Linked DNA regions of Homo sapiens: region 2 is linked to region 1. Evidence: promoter capture Hi-C in 16 types of primary human blood cells and fetal thymus (Javierre and others, 2016). All regions are on one chromosome and are shown on one strand. Each heading gives the region's core, a stretch centred on a gene start or on the middle of the fragment in contact. The rest is flanking DNA. Distances are from core to core; before and after follow the strand shown. Region 1 holds the start of RD3 (RD3 regulator of GUCY2D). Region 2 overlaps RCOR3 (REST corepressor 3).

Region 1 (7,645 bases), core at 1,538-4,037:
AGTAGCCCCATGGCTTTATCTCCAGCAGAAACCACAGATTTTTCACAAAATGCTTTAAAGTTGTTATTCTTGAATTATCTGGTATGCTCATCACTACTATGAAATTGTGGCATTTATTAGACTTGCTACTAGGTTTTATTATTTCACATGTTGATAGGGAAGCACACATATTATTATATCATAAATCATTTTTTCTTTCTTTTTTTTTTTTTTGATAGCTGCATTTCAATAGAGCTTGTTTCCTTTGTACCCCAGTGAATTTACTTTTATGCATTTAGAAGCATTTTTCTAGGAACGTGTCCACAGGCTTCACAGACTCCCAAAGGGGGCACAAAAATAAAGGATCCCCTGGCTTGGTGCAAGCTTGACCCCAACTTTGTTCCTGGCCTTCCCCAGCCCTGGCTTCTGGTCACCGTGTTGGGAGAGCTGAGCCTCCCTGTTTCAAGAGAAGGCCCAGGTGGTGAGGCCTCAGGTTTACAGAGCAGAGTGGATGATGGGGAAGCCCTCGCACGTTCTGTCTCTGCCTTTTGGTGTCACTCACCCACGCCCGTTATCTTCCATTCTCTGATCTTCTCTTTCCTCTTTCCTTTCTCCTTCATTACCCCTTCCACCCCCACACTCTCAGAGCCTTCCTTTCAGCCTATTTTTGAACATCCCTGAGGATAATGTCTTTTCTGTGGCTCCTGGGAGGCGCCACTACCAGCTGTGGCTCGTTAGCTGTGCTGGAAAAACTCTCGCGTTGTGCCTCAAGGGCAAGAGGAGTCTCTGGTTCCACTTGGCACTCAGAGGGGGACCAGGGATGTCTCAATGGTGGGAACAATGGGGAGTGTGACCTTGGAGCTGGAAGCAGGGCTCTGACCCCCTGCAGGAGGGATGAGAGTGCCCTCACCTCTAGTGAGAACTGAGGCCCTGCGCCGGCCCCAGCCAAACAGTGAGGGCGTGCAGACCTTGCCCAGGAAGGCCAATTTCTCAGTGCAAAGGGAGCCATGGCCAGGGAACCCGGCCCGGGTCCTCCACCTCTGAAGCTGAGCTAGGCATCTGCAGGCCAGGGTGAGGGGCTGCCCTGTGTGACCCGCCGGACCCAGGCATAGAGCAGCACCTGAGTCAGGCTGTCCCAGAGCACTGGCAGCTTCACTGCAGGGGCAGGCTGGCTCTGCTGACGCCAGACGCTCAGTCTGGGCAGAGACTTCTCAGTGGGGGCAGAGAGTAGGTGCTTCTCTGGCTAATCTGCCTCCCAGCTCTGTGTTTGATAAGGCCCAAGTCCAACTTTACAGATTGCAAATTGACCTTATTTCTCTTTGGCATCACAGAAAAACAACCTATAATCCACCAAGCCAGATATGAGCGGGCCTGACCTGTGGATCCTCTGCCCACCTGACAGACATCTGCTCATTTGTCGGGAACCCCTCAAGAGACAACTCCTCCCTGCAGCCGGCCCCTCACTTCCCCCCACCCATGGAGCACTGATCCCAGCCACCAGGGCCTGACACAAGGGCCCATCACCATGGCATCTAGCAAACACGTTTCTCACGCTTTGGGTTGTATTTATCTCTTCCCCACCTAGCTATGAATTCTGCAAGGGCGAGAGGAATGTGGGTTGAATCTGCTGCACATGGTAGCACTTGATAAGCGGTTCCTGAATGAATGAGTGAATGGCAGCCAGTCCTTCCCATTCTGAGGCAGAGGTGCAGCCAGGAGAGGGCGTGTACACAGGTCTGACTGACCACAGTGGGAGGGGACTGACCCTCATCCCTTGGTCGCAGCTGGACTTTCCTTCTAGGCCCGATCTCCCTGGCGCCCCACCCTGCACCCATCTGCCTGGGCCCACTCTCCTGGGCATGTTATCAGGGATGCACAGACTGCTCCATGTTCGAGGGGACTGAGGCACATCCATCACCCTCGTGCCCTGGGTGCTGCTGCATCCCCAGAGCCTGACTCTGTGCCTTGGACTTAGTAGATGCTCGAATCACAGTTCGCAAACCCATGCAAGAGTCTCTGATTTGGGTTTCGCTTTCCTTCCCCCTGCCTGTGTCCACTCTATAAAGGCAGAAAGGAACCTGCTGGAGCTGGGTCCTCCCCGAGAGGCTTGCAGTTCCAGAACAGGCAAAAACAATGGCTTCCCACAGGTTTACAAAACAAGGAGCAGGCTATAGCCCCGAGGAAGCTGCAGGACCCTCATCGGTTCCAACTCCTGTGGAACTGATGAGGACTAAAGGGGCCTTCCTGTGGCCATCTGGGTCCCGGAGGTGGGCGGCTTTCTAGGCTCCCCAGCCTGCCACACCCCTTGAGGCCACCCCACCCAGCTTCAAGCCTCAGCCCTAACTTCCAAAGGTGCAGCTGTGCCAGGGTGCGGGTGGGGAAGACACTGTCTCCTGGGGAGACCTCCATCTTACCTCTGAGGTCAGCCTCTGCTCAGGTGCAGCGTCACAGCAGGGGGCCTGCGTTCTGCTTCCCAGTCTGGGAGAAGAGAGTGTCTGGATATTTTCAGGAAAAAAAAAGAAAGTTGAGCAGCCACAGCAGGGCAGGGCAGTCTACATCCTCAAGTCTCCCTCAGCTTCTCTGCTGCTGCCGGCTGGCCTCAAATTTTGCCTCTCTTTGGTTCTCTGAGAAGTTTTACCAAGAGAAGAGACAGGAGGAGAGATCCAGCCTGGACTATTGTTTGTGGGGTGTGTAGGTGTGTGTGTGTGTGTGTGTGTGTGTGTGTGTGTGTGTGTGTGTATGCGTGTATGTATCCCGCGAGGCTGGAGCCACAGCTTCCCTGATGAACCATGGAGGCGGGCCAGCTCCTGAGCTGCGGTTGCCCTGGAGACCCACCTAAGCCTCTTTGCCTGGAGCAGCATTATCTGTAGAGGGAGTGGCTGATCTGACACAAAAGCCTGAGGCGACCCAGGCCCAGGCAGTGAGGGAGCACTTGTGTCCAGATGGCATTCTGTCCGCTTCCTCCTCCAGCCGGTGCTCAGTGTGGCACAAACTGGGCAAGACCATTCTCACCCAACCCTCTGCTGAGCCCTAGGTGTACCTGCTGTTGGCAAATGTTTCCAGCTGCCTGGTGGGTGGCTCCTGGATGGAGATCCCCTCTTTCTATCAGCTCCCTCCTACAGGGAAGGGGTGATTCTGGGTGCTGAGGACAGGGACCTGTGAAGATACATCTCCGCCTTTGCCCCACCACATCCCTTGCCTGTCTTCCTCTCTGCTTATCTAAATTATTTCCTTCCCTCAAGGCAAGCTCAAGAGCAGACAGTTCTGACTTTCAGAAGGAGGGGCTGTCCAGGGAGAAGAGGAACATGGAACAGAAAGCATTGACGTTGAGGTATTTGAGATAACATTTGGGGATAGCAGAAGCATCCTGTTGCTGTTCTGCAGCATCCCACACTCATGTCTGGGCCTCCTTCCTGTCTCTGCTCTCTGGTCACGCTGTCACTTGTAGACTGTTCTGCCTAGAAGCCATGTGTGGGCCAGCTTGCACCTAACAGACATTAGGTAGCACTAAAACAGATGCACACTGCCCTGTGAGGGGCATGGGAATACTGTAATGGGCATGAAGCTGCATTATAATAGATCTTAGGTAATCCTGTGCTGGGTGATAGCGTGACTTTTGCACACATCTGGTTTTGATTGTGTTGGAAATAAAGCAGAAAGTACAACCAAGAATAAATTAAACAATGGCTGATGAAATGGACTCAGGTTGCCCACCTGCCTGCCTGCATGATTTCGTCCCTGGGTGATTTGTCACTTCGTGCTTGCTCTGTGGCTGGTTCCACTCAGCTGGTTCCATCCGCCTTCCCTCTTCATCCATCAAGCAGGCAAGATTCTTGAGTCAGGAGTTGGATCATATACTTCTCTTGACCAGTTCACAGCACGACAGCCCCAAAGATTGAGTGGGTCACTTGGGGATGGAAGATCCCCACATTTGAGGGAGCTGAAGCTGACTTCCTCTGACCCACAGTTCCCAGGCGGCCTCCACCTCAGGGCCAGCTAAGGCCAGAGTCACCCAAAGCAGGTAACTGGGAGTCCCCACCTCTGAGCACCCCACCACTATCCTGGCACTTTCCCAAGGGGCGTGGCTTGGAGGTCCAAGGGCAGAAATTCCCAGGCATTTCCACACTGTAGGGAAGGGAGCAGGGGGATGACAAGACTTTACCTTCCCTTTAGGAAAGTTGCTGGAGGCAATGAGGAGAGGAGGGCATGGACTAAGTCACATGCTCATCTGTGCAGCACGTATTTCTAAAGCACCATTCTACAGGGGCACCAAGCTAGGAGCTGGCTGAGCCTGGCTCTCCTCTCTGCACACATCCCAGCCAAGCCTGTGTGTGCTGGATTGCTGGATCAGATGAGGAGGAGGTGGAAGTCTGGCAGGCAGGTGGGGAGCAGGGACAGCATTAGGGCCCAGAGTTAAAGACTTTTATCTCCAAGTAGTACAACCTTGGGTCTGCTACTGACCATTCTGTGTTTGAATAAAAACAATTCATCCCTTTTCTATAGCCATGCTTTTGTATTAATATCTCCCCTTCTAATGCACACACAATGAATGTAAATGAGATCATAGAGGCCAATGTCTTGAGCCATCAGAAAGATTTTGTCGCAGCAGCTGCCAGATGAGCTTCAGGACTCCTGACCCTGGGATGCCAGGGAACAAGCACACAGACGACTTATAGCAGTCTCCCTGGCAGACGCAGCTGGCCCCTCTCCTGCATTTTTCAAATGGTGCCTGTGATTAGAAGAGGGAGGCACTCCCTAACCCACGACCCTCCCTGACAGCTGCCTTGATACCGTAACTCACAGGCCTTGGTGGGTGTGTTGACTCCTCATTTATTCTGATTTGTTCACCTGTGGAGGATTTGTGATTATCCTTGCTGAGTGTGAATTTGCTCTGGGGAGAAAAGGTGGCGGTTGTTTTTCTCTTGTTTGGCGTGGATGGAAGTTGCTGAAGCATAGATATTCAGCAACCATCAAATGCAGAAACACCGGTGGGGCCCGCAACATTGCCTCATAGATGGCATTTGATTAATAAATTGGAAATGTGGAGTTATGAGGCGATTACATGCAAGGCTGGATTAAAATCCGCATGGAGATTAGAGATAAGCCCCGGCTCTGCGTGTGTGTGTGTGTGTGTGTGTGTGTGTGTGCACGCGCGCGCTCCGTTCTCTCCTCCCTGGAGTCTTTCCAGGCTATTTCAAACCATTTCTAACCACTCAGTCATGCGTTGGGTTTTCCAAATCCTGCAGAAGGTCTGTGTAGCCCTAATCCCAAAGAAGTTGAATTAAATGGACAGAATATTCATAGGTACAGACCAGATTTGCAGTTACTTAGACCTCTTCTCTCTGGGCATCCCTCTTTCTATTCCTGTGGTCACATTTCCTCTCCAGGTGCTACGGACTGAATGTTGTGTCCTCCCCAAAATTCAATCTTGAATCTCCCAAGGTGATGGTTAGGAGGTGGGACCTTTCGGATGTGATTAGGTCGTAAGAGGGGAGCCCTCAGGAATGAGATTACTGCCCTTGTGAAATGGTCTCAGGGAGCTTTTTGGCCCTTCTACCACGTGAGGACACTGTGAGAAGATGCCTCCATCAACTAGGAAGTGGGCTTTCAGCAGACACTGAATCTACTGGCACCTTGATCTTGGACTTCCCAGCCTCCAGAGCTGTGAGAAATAAATTTCTGTCATTTATAAGTCACCAGTTTATGGTATTCTGTAATAGAAGCCTGAATGGACTCAGACATCAGGTACAGGAAGCAATGTGTCTGACGGCAGGAAAAATGAGAATGCTCCCTTCCCTGCCAGCTAGCTGGGAATGAGGCATAAAGCACTTCTCATTCATTCATTCATTCACCAAGCATTTATTGGCTATATACTCTGTCTAGACTGCACCTTGACACTCCATTTCCATAGACTTCACTGACCACAGCTTCTTCTTCTTCTTTTTTTTTTTTTTGAGACAGAGTTTTGCTCTTGTTGCCCAGGCTGGAGTGCAATGGTGCGATCTTGGCTCACCACAATCTCCACTTCCCAGGTTCAAGCAATTCTCCTGCCTCAGCCTCCCGAGTAGCTGGGAGTATAGGCATGTACCACTACGCCTGGCTAATTTTGTATTTTTAGTAGAGATGGGGTTTCTCCATGTTGAGGCTGGTCTCGAACTCCTGACCTCAGGTGATCCACCCGCCTCAGCTTCCCAAAGTGCTGGGATTACAGGGGTGAGCCGCTGCGCCCGGCTACAGCTTTTCAGTTCTGCCCTGTAGTCTGATGGACTAATGTGAGGGCCTGTGGCAGAAACAGCTAGCTGTCCACCAAGAGTCACATTTCTCCTCCAGAGTACATGAACATGTAGTAGACATGTTCCTAGGAAGCAGCTGTCCAGCTGGGGACTTCATTCCCCATCCCTCCTCCCATCTAGGTGGGGCCGTGTGATGATAGGGTGTAGATGGAAGGGACATGAGTCACTTCAAGGTGTGGCAGGTAGACACCCCTGTGCAACTGTCCACCTTCCACCTTTCCCCTTTGCTGATCGTCAGCCAGGACTCTGAGGCCCTCGGGGTGGGGGAGACACAGTTTTGAAGGCGTTTAGGTCCCTCAATCACTTCATGAAAAGCTGCTCACCCATCATTCATGTTGAACTCTAATGTGTGCAAAAAATCATATGCTTGTTGGGTCAAAGCACTGAGTTGGGGTTTCTCTGTAATAGCAGTTGGCACCACCCAGCTCACAAAAAACCCTGTGAAAAGGGGTGGGTGTGGAAGTGCTGCCCTTTCCTAGGTTCCTGGACATCAGGGCTCTTCCTGACATGTTCGCCGCTGGTTTTTTCACCATCACCTTAAAGACATTACTTCATCCCCTGTTGTCTCATGCCCCTGTGCATGGTGCCCACTCTACCCAGAGTCCCCTCCTACCTGGGGAAGTTAACTTACCCCTCAAAGTTTAGCTTCATGGTAACCGCTTTGTGAATTATCCTCTGTCTGCTGCTCCCTCCTCTCCACTCTGAAGCCTCATTCTTTTTTTTTTTTTTTTTTTCTTTTGAGATGGAGTTTTGCTCTTGTTGCCCAGGCTGGAGTGCAATGACACGATCTTGGCTCACTGCAACCTCTGCCTCCTGGGTTCAAGCAATTCTCCTGCCTCAGCCTCCCAAGTAGCTGGGATTACAGGCGTGTGCCACCACACCCAGCTAATTTTTGTATTTTTAGTAGAGCCAAGGTTTCACCATGTTGGCCAAACTGGTCTCGAACTCCTGACCTCAGGTGATCCACCCACCTTGGCGTCCCAAAGTGCTGGGATTACAGGTGTGAGCCACTGTGCCCGGCCTGAAGCCTCATTCTTCCTTCTGTACACACAGTTGATCCTCATTACCTACCAAAGTACTGGCAAATTTGCCTACTCACTAAAATTTATTTGTAATCCAAAAGTCAATACTCATAGAACTTTTTTTTTTTTTGATGCAGAGTCTTGTTCTGTTGCCCAGGCTGGATGGAGTGCAGTGCTGTGCTCTCAGCTCACTGCAACCTCTGCCTCCCAGGTTCAAGCGATTCTCCCACCTCAGCCTCCCAAGTAGCTGGAATTACAGGCTTGTGCCACCACACCCGGCTACTTTTTTTTTTTTTTTTTTTTTTGAGATGAAGTCTCGCTCTGTCGCCCAGGCTGGAGTGCAGTGGCGAG
Region 2 (7,645 bases), core at 3,593-6,092, 170 kb before region 1:
AATGACATGCTAAGTTCTGATTCTAGAAGAATGGAGAGTGTATTGTTCTTTCATAGTCTTATTTTTATTTTCAGTGTTAAGCTGTTTACAAATAAAGATGCCTGTTTGGTAGCCTCATTGGTTTTTGGTTTTTGGTTTTGTTTTGTTTAAAATAAAAGAAGCTTGTGCTTCCAATAAACACTGGTGTTATGTTTTTGTTTTGTTTTGATTTGTTTTGTTTTTCCTGTGACAGCCCAAACTATATTGTATTAAGTTCATTAGGACTTACATCTCATACGTGTATTTTTGTTTCCTCACCTCTAGGCACAGACCCCACAGGCTCCTCGGACACTGGGTCCATCACCTCCTGCCCCATCATCCACTCCAACACCAACAGCCCCTATTGCCACTCTGAACCAGCCTCCACCACTTCTTCGTCCAACACTGCCTGCTGCCCCGGCTCTTCACCGGCAGCCTCCTCCACTCCAGCAGCAGGCTCGGTTCATCCAGCCCCGGCCAACTTTAAATCAGCCTCCACCACCTCTTATTCGCCCTGCTAATTCCATGCCACCCCGTCTAAACCCAAGACCGGTGTTGTCCACGGTTGGTGGTCAACAGCCACCATCACTTATTGGAATTCAGACAGATTCACAGTCCTCACTGCACTAAAAATTAAATTGGACACAGCTGCAGTAACTTTTCACCCCATCATTATACCAGTGCTCATCTGACTGATGAAAAAGAGGAAAGAATAATCATTTCTAGATACTGAGGCTGCGAACTAGTTCTGTGGCAGTGGACTAGCATAAGTGGATGTCTAAGAAATTTTTCAGTTCACTAGACTAAAATGTTTTACAACAAAAAGCCTCCAGTTAGCCTCCTTTCTAGAGTATATGTTCAGCAATGTTGATCTCATAAAAGGAAAAACAAAAGATTTAAGTATTCTATATACCAAGTTTTTGTTTTGTTTTTACTGTATTTATTTTATTGAGGTTCTTTATATTCCTGCCTCTTCATAGTCAAGGCTCTTAGTACAGGAATATTGACTTAGGAATTGTGAAAACTCCTTAAGTTTCTTAAGTTAAGGATGTTTGGCTTTTTTCTTTAATTTTTTAAAAACCATTTTCCTATGTTAGGAGTGCAAGAATAGCCAGCATTTCCGATTTTGACATATGTTCATTTTATGCATATTTAAGAAATTATAGCTGCATATCCCTTCTTTCAAAAAATGTTGCTTTTTTTTTTAAAGGAATTTTAATATATTCCTTTAAAAGAAAGCAATTTAATCAATTGCAAAGCAATTATATAAAACCACAAAGAATGTACTGAACCTACTAACCCTTTAACATACAGTTTAGGGTCCTAGCGCAGAGTCCTTGTTTAAAGGTCATTGACTCATCATCTGTCAGTAATGAGAGGATTGGAAGAATAATTTTGCATACAAATGAGGACTTAATTTGTTGAAATATAATCTCTTTAAGTTCCTTGAAAATGGAGTTGGTTTTTTTTGTTTCTAAATGCTATCTGCTTTTAACTAGTAGTTGCCTACATCTGGGGACTTCAGAGAAGAATTATATTTTGTTAGTTAAGTAGACACAGTGGTTATGGAAGCATTTCTTTACAGTACCCTTTACATGTTTGGTTTCTGAACTTAAAATTGCCCTCATACTTAATAATATGGTCTGCATTTAATATGAAAGGTGTTTTATTGATAAATCTATTGTACTATTTGGATACATTTGTGTATTCCTTGCAGCCAACCTGTATTCGTGGGATTGGTGTAGGGTTAAATCATCAACATTATTTCATAAAATAAGAATTTGTTCTGTGTTATCTAAAGATGTATCAGTATATTGTCACAGTTGTGCTGTTAACTAAAAATGCTGAGACCCCTTTTTATAGAAAAACAAAAAGACATCAAGTCTTCTTAATTCAACCCATAATCATTAAGTACTTAACAAAGAATATTTTACAAGTGATAGTATTTCAACAATGTGTAATTAATATTTTTGATACAGTGATTTCATATTGGAATCATTATTTGTGCAAAGGGACAGACAGATCACTTAGATTGCTATACTAGTGGACATAGGCTACATGTTTGCACATTCACATTCTTATCACGTGTAGAATACTTCACAAAATAGTCAACATCTAAGGCCCTAATTTATGTTTTGAAAGATCATGTGTTCCCAAAGTATTCCCTATTGTTGGCTCCACAGCCTTAAAGTGCTATAGATTTAAATTCATTGATTAGTTTTAATTTTTAATTTTAGACTGTGTATTTCCATAAATACCCTACGTACTGGCATATTTGAAACTCTTTTTCCAGGTTAGGTCCTTTTCTTTCTCATTGAATCATCTTAAATAGTTCTTGGCCCTGAATTTAGCTGATTTAAAATTCTTAATATTCAAGAATTTATACTTATTTTTTCCTTAAAAGCCACAGGGGACAGTTAAATATCTTAAAATATCTAAAACATTTTTTAAAGCACTTAGATTGTCTTACGTATGTGCATACTATACCTTTACAGCGTTTATTGTCTTGTCTCTTGTCAGTAGACCTTCAGTACACAGTATGTGGGATATGTCAGTCAAGTTGGTCAGCACCAGCATCTGTCCAGCTGTTCAGTATATTGTGATTCATTAAAAAATCTCTTCTATCCCAGACATGGGCCAAGGTGCTGTATCTGAGGGATGTGCTGTAATTTGATTTACATGCATTAGAGCACACAGTAGAAAAACTTTAGCTTCATTAGTAATATGACACATGTATATAGTGAGATGTCTTTATTGTGTGCTTTGCATATTTTGTAAATATTTTGCACGTCATTATTTTTCTTTTTTGTTTAAGCAGTGTTTGGCCTGGAAGAGTGATATGCTTGCTGCTTAATCAAAGGATTAAAGATTTAAAGATGTCTATGTCTTCTATTTTTATATAATTTCATGTTCTATGAGGAATTTAGTACCTCTTCACTGTGAAATTCGAAATAATGATTTTTATAAAAGCAAAACTAGAAATCTTTTAATGACAATTTTCATTAATTTCAGGGTTATCATTTTTGAGAAATCTACACCAAAGTGGTTTTTTAAAATTACATAACTAAAAATAAACCACACTGTGGATACATCTTATAAAACTAATGGAAACAATGTTTTTCTATATGATTTAATTCTAGTGTAATATGGATGAGGTAAGAGTAAGTTATGATCAAACTTTTTATGTTCTTAATAAGCTTGCAATTGAGTAAAATAGAATATAAAATAAAGGTGAAATAATATAAAATTTTGTCTTAATGTAGGCCTACATTCTTTTTAGGAATAGATGTAGAGAGCAAGCCAAGAACGTGACTATCATTTTTAAGAATATTAAAAATTGCAAGTACAGTCATGCCCTTAACAACGGGGATATGGTCTGAGAAAGGTGCTGTTAGGTGATTCTTTTGTGCTGTGAATCAGATTGTACTTGTACCAACATTGGTGGCAAAGTCTACTACACACCTAGGCTATATGGTATAGCCTTTGCTCCTAGGCAACAGTCCTATGCTGTACAGTAATATACTGTACTGAATATCATAGGCAGTTATAACACAGTGGTAATATCTGTGTATCTAAACATAGAAAAGGTATAGTAAAAATACAATATTTTATATATTTATTTTTTGAGACAGGTTCTCACTCTGTCGCACAGGCTGGAGTGCAGTGGCGGGATCTTGGCTCAGCAACCTTTGCCTCCCAGGCTCAAGCAGTTCTCCTGTCTCAGCCTCCTGAGTGTCTGGGATTACAGGCGCCCGCCACCACACCTGGCTAAGTTTTGTATTTTTTAGTAGAGATGGGGTTCCACCGTGTTGGTCGGGCTGATCTTGAAGTCCTGGTCTCAGGTGATCCACCTGTCTTGGCCTCCCAAAGTGCTGGGATTACAGGTATGAGCCACTGCTTCCTGCTGATGTTATAATTTTAAAGAACATCAGTGTATTTGCAGTCACTGACCGAAATATTGTGTGGTGCATGACTGTACTTGGGTTAAAGTACCTAGTTTAGTTATTAAGTATGTTGTATTAATTTTATGTTCCCTCCTGTTATCAAAAGGTTATTTATGAACATTAATAACTGCTAACTAGTTAACACTGGGGTGTCAGGATCTCCTCAAAAAGAATAGTAATCTGACTTCGAACTCTAAGAAGAATCTATCTTTCTCTTTGTGCATGCCCAAAATAAATGACAAATACATTCTTATTAGAGGACACACAAGAAAAAAAGTGTTTTTAAATTTAGCCATTCATTATAGATTACATCGTTTATAAGAAAATAACAGAATAAATGAATACGGAAAGAACCCAAGAATCAAGTTTGAGAAACCATTCCATATTAGAAAATGCCTACAAGAAACTTTTGACATCTGATTTATGGTAGTACCTGAACTGTTTTCACCTAGGAAAGAGTAGGTCATGTGTAACTCCCCACAACTTCTTTATCATAACTGCCTTAGGGAAGGAATGTTCTGCAGCAGTATATTAGTGACAATGGAGTTTGAGAATTAAACATGACAAGGAATGCTCCTAGATGTGTGAGTTTGTGTCTAAAGGGCCATGTGGCTTTATCTGCCCTTTTTTGCTCTCCTAAGTCTATATAGCTAAGGGAGAAACAGTGAAGATCAGAAGTTAATATTGGGTTGAGATGTTTGCCAATTGTCATTACTTGGTTTAAAGTAGACAATTGTTTATTAATAAACGGAACAGTCTTTACAATGCAGTAATCTAAACTTTAGAATCCTAAAGCAGGAATCTGGGTGAGCAGGGTCTCTAAGGAAAAAATGCTGGTGATGTGAAGTGGAGAGATCTAAGAACAGTCTTCACAATGTAAATGAGGTCAAAGTTGATGTCACAGAATGCTTCATATGTTTCCTTCCCTTGGACTATTTTAAGAAAGGTGAAATTTTTATTCTGTACAATTTAATCTTATTTGTAAGGTACAGTTACCAATAACTAAGAAGATGCTGAATAATACCACAACACAAGGTATCTCTTGAGGGATCTGTCTAGTTTACTACCTGGAACAGCTTTCTTATTTGACAGGATTTGGCTTGAAGAGGCCTTTAATCCAAAGACCATTTTGTTGATATCCTGCCTCTTCATCTTTTCCAAAAGAGTTTGAAAATAATCAGAATCATTGAGGGCTTGTGGCCTATATTTGCAAAATAATTGCCCACCAACCTTTAACACAATGAGTTTTCCAACTCCACTAAGCAAGTTACTTAATCTCTGTGAGCCTCATTTTCCTCATTTGGGGAGGAATATATAAACTGGGGCATATAGTACCTGCCCAATGTATGTTAGAGGTTTTTACATGTCTACTTATACCATACCCTTCTTAATAAGGGAAATGTATTGTGACTTTTTTTTTTTTTTTTGGACAGAGTCTCGTTCTGTCACCCAGGCTGGAGTGCAATGGCGCAATCTCAGCTCATTTTTTTAAAAAAATTAAAGTGCAGTGCAAAAATGAGAGATTAATTTCAGTTCAAGATGACAGACTGGACATAGTCTTTTACTTTTCTTACCCATAATCTCCCCCTGCCAGTCTTACTGAAATGACAAGAAATAGAAAAACCAAAATAACCCTTAGCAGTGCTAGGAAGCCAGAGGAGGAGCTACCAGCAGATGGGGATACATTTATGACAAAAGCCAGCAGAATTAAGGAACCTCTAATGTGACAAAGAGCTGAAGCCAGCCTTTTGCTAACAGCCAGCAAAGAACTCAGGCCTTCAGTTCAACAACCTGCCAGGAACTGAATCCTGCCAACATCCATGTGCACTTGAAAATGGATCCTTCCCCAGTTGGGTCTTGAGATGACCAGAACCCAGCTAACAGCTTGATTGCAGCCTATGACTTGAATAACACACCTTTACCTAGTTGAAATGTGGGATCATTCTACCCAACAGCAGAATAAACATTGTTTCCATGTGCACATGAAATATTGCTCAATATCAGCACTACTGACATTTTAGGTTAGATAATTCTTTTTTGTGCATTTAGAATGTTGAACAGCATCCTCAGCCTCTACCCACCAGATACCAGTAGAACCCCCTTCCCCAGTTTGAGAATCAAAAATGTCTCCAGACATGGTCAAATGTCCCATAAGGAGCAAAATCACCTCCAGTTGAGAATCATTGCAATATATCATATTAATAAAATAAAGGAAAAAAGCCATATGATTATGTTGATAGACACAGAAAAGATATTTGACAAAATCCAACACCTATTCATGATTAAAACTTAGAAAACTAGGAATGCTTCCCCTCAGGATGGAAATCAAGGCAAGGATGTCTGCACTCACAACTCTATTCAGTGGTTTACTGAAGGTTATAGCCAGTGCAATAGGCAAGAAAAAAGTATAGAGATTGGAAAGGAAAAACTAAAATTGTTTTTATGTGCAGATGACATGAAATTGTATGTAAAAAATCCCAAGAAACCTGCAAAAACTAGAATAGTAAGCAAGCTTAAGAAAATCAGAGGATACAAGATCAATGTACAATCAATTGTATTTTCATATAATGGCAACAAGTGATCTGAGAATGGAATTAAGAAAATTTTATTCATGATAGTATCAAAAAATAGGAATAAACAAAAATGTGCAAGACTTGTCCATGAAAAACTATATTGCTGAGAGAAATAAGACCTAAATAACTAACTGTTCATGGATTGGAAGATTGATATTGTTAAAATGGCATTTCTCCTCAAACTGATTTATAGATTCAATCTAATTCTTATAAAAATCCTAGCAGGCTTATTTTGCACAGACTGGCAAACTGATTTTGAAATTTATATGGTAATGCAAAGGACCTAGAACAGGGGCCAGTAAACTTTTTCTATAAATAGCCAAATAGTAAATATATTAGGCTTTGTGGTCCACAAACTGTTGCAACTCCTGGCCTCTACCATTTTAGTTCAAAAACAGCCAGAGAAAATACATAAATGGACAGATATAGCTATGTGTCAATAAAACTTTATTTACAAAAACAGGCAGCAACTCCTAACTTAAAATAGACAAAACAATTTTGAAGAAGAACAAAATTGGGTGATTGGCACTAACTGATTTCCATATTTGTTATAAAGATGCAATAATCAAGATTGTAATATTGGTGTAATGATGGACATATAGATCAATGGAACAAAATAGAGTCCAGAAATAGACTCATCCATATGTGATCAACTAATTTTCAATGAAAGTGTCAGTGTAATTCAATGGCAGAAGTGATAGAATATCTGCATGCAAAAAAAAAAACCTCCAATAAACCTTGATCCTTCCCTCACATCATGCATAAAAATAAACATGAGATGGAACACAGACCTAAATATAAGAACAAAAATGGCCGAGCATGGCGGCTCACACCTGTAATCCCAGCACTTTGGAAGCCCGAGGTGGGCGGATCACCTCAGGTTGGAAGTTTGAGACCAGCCTGGCCAATATGGTGAAACCCTGTCTCTACTAAAAATACAAAAATTAGCCGGGTGTGTGGGGCACGCCTGTAATCCCAGGTACTCGGGAGGCTGACGCAGGAGAATTACTTGAACCCAGGAGGTGGAGGTTGCAGTGAGCCAAGATCGCGCCACTGTACTCCAGCATGGGTGGGACAGGGTGAGACTCTGTCTCCAAAAAAAAAAAAAAA

The links. Contacts are between HindIII fragments. The CHiCAGO score rates a contact against its expected background, and 5 or more counts as called.
Region 2: a contact is called between a fragment that was not itself captured here and the fragment with the promoter of RD3 in region 1, in 6 of 17 cell types (naive CD4 T cells, M2 macrophages, M1 macrophages and 3 more). The highest score is 7.4, in naive CD4 T cells.

What each region holds. Positions count from the first base shown.
Region 1 is chr1:211,489,375-211,497,019 of GRCh38, forward strand. RD3 (RD3 regulator of GUCY2D) reads right to left here and starts at 2,788. Exons shown (of 3, transcript NM_001164688.2): 1 at 2,394-2,788. The HindIII fragment of the contact is 10,925 bases long and covers 362-7,645 here.
Region 2 is chr1:211,313,121-211,320,765 of GRCh38, forward strand. It overlaps RCOR3 (REST corepressor 3), which reads left to right. Exons shown (of 12, transcript NM_001136223.3): 12 at 304-3,265. The coding sequence ends at 648. Among named protein-coding and RNA genes, the nearest start is that of TRAF5, 9.9 kb to the right of the region's middle. The HindIII fragment of the contact is 3,259 bases long and covers 3,214-6,472 here.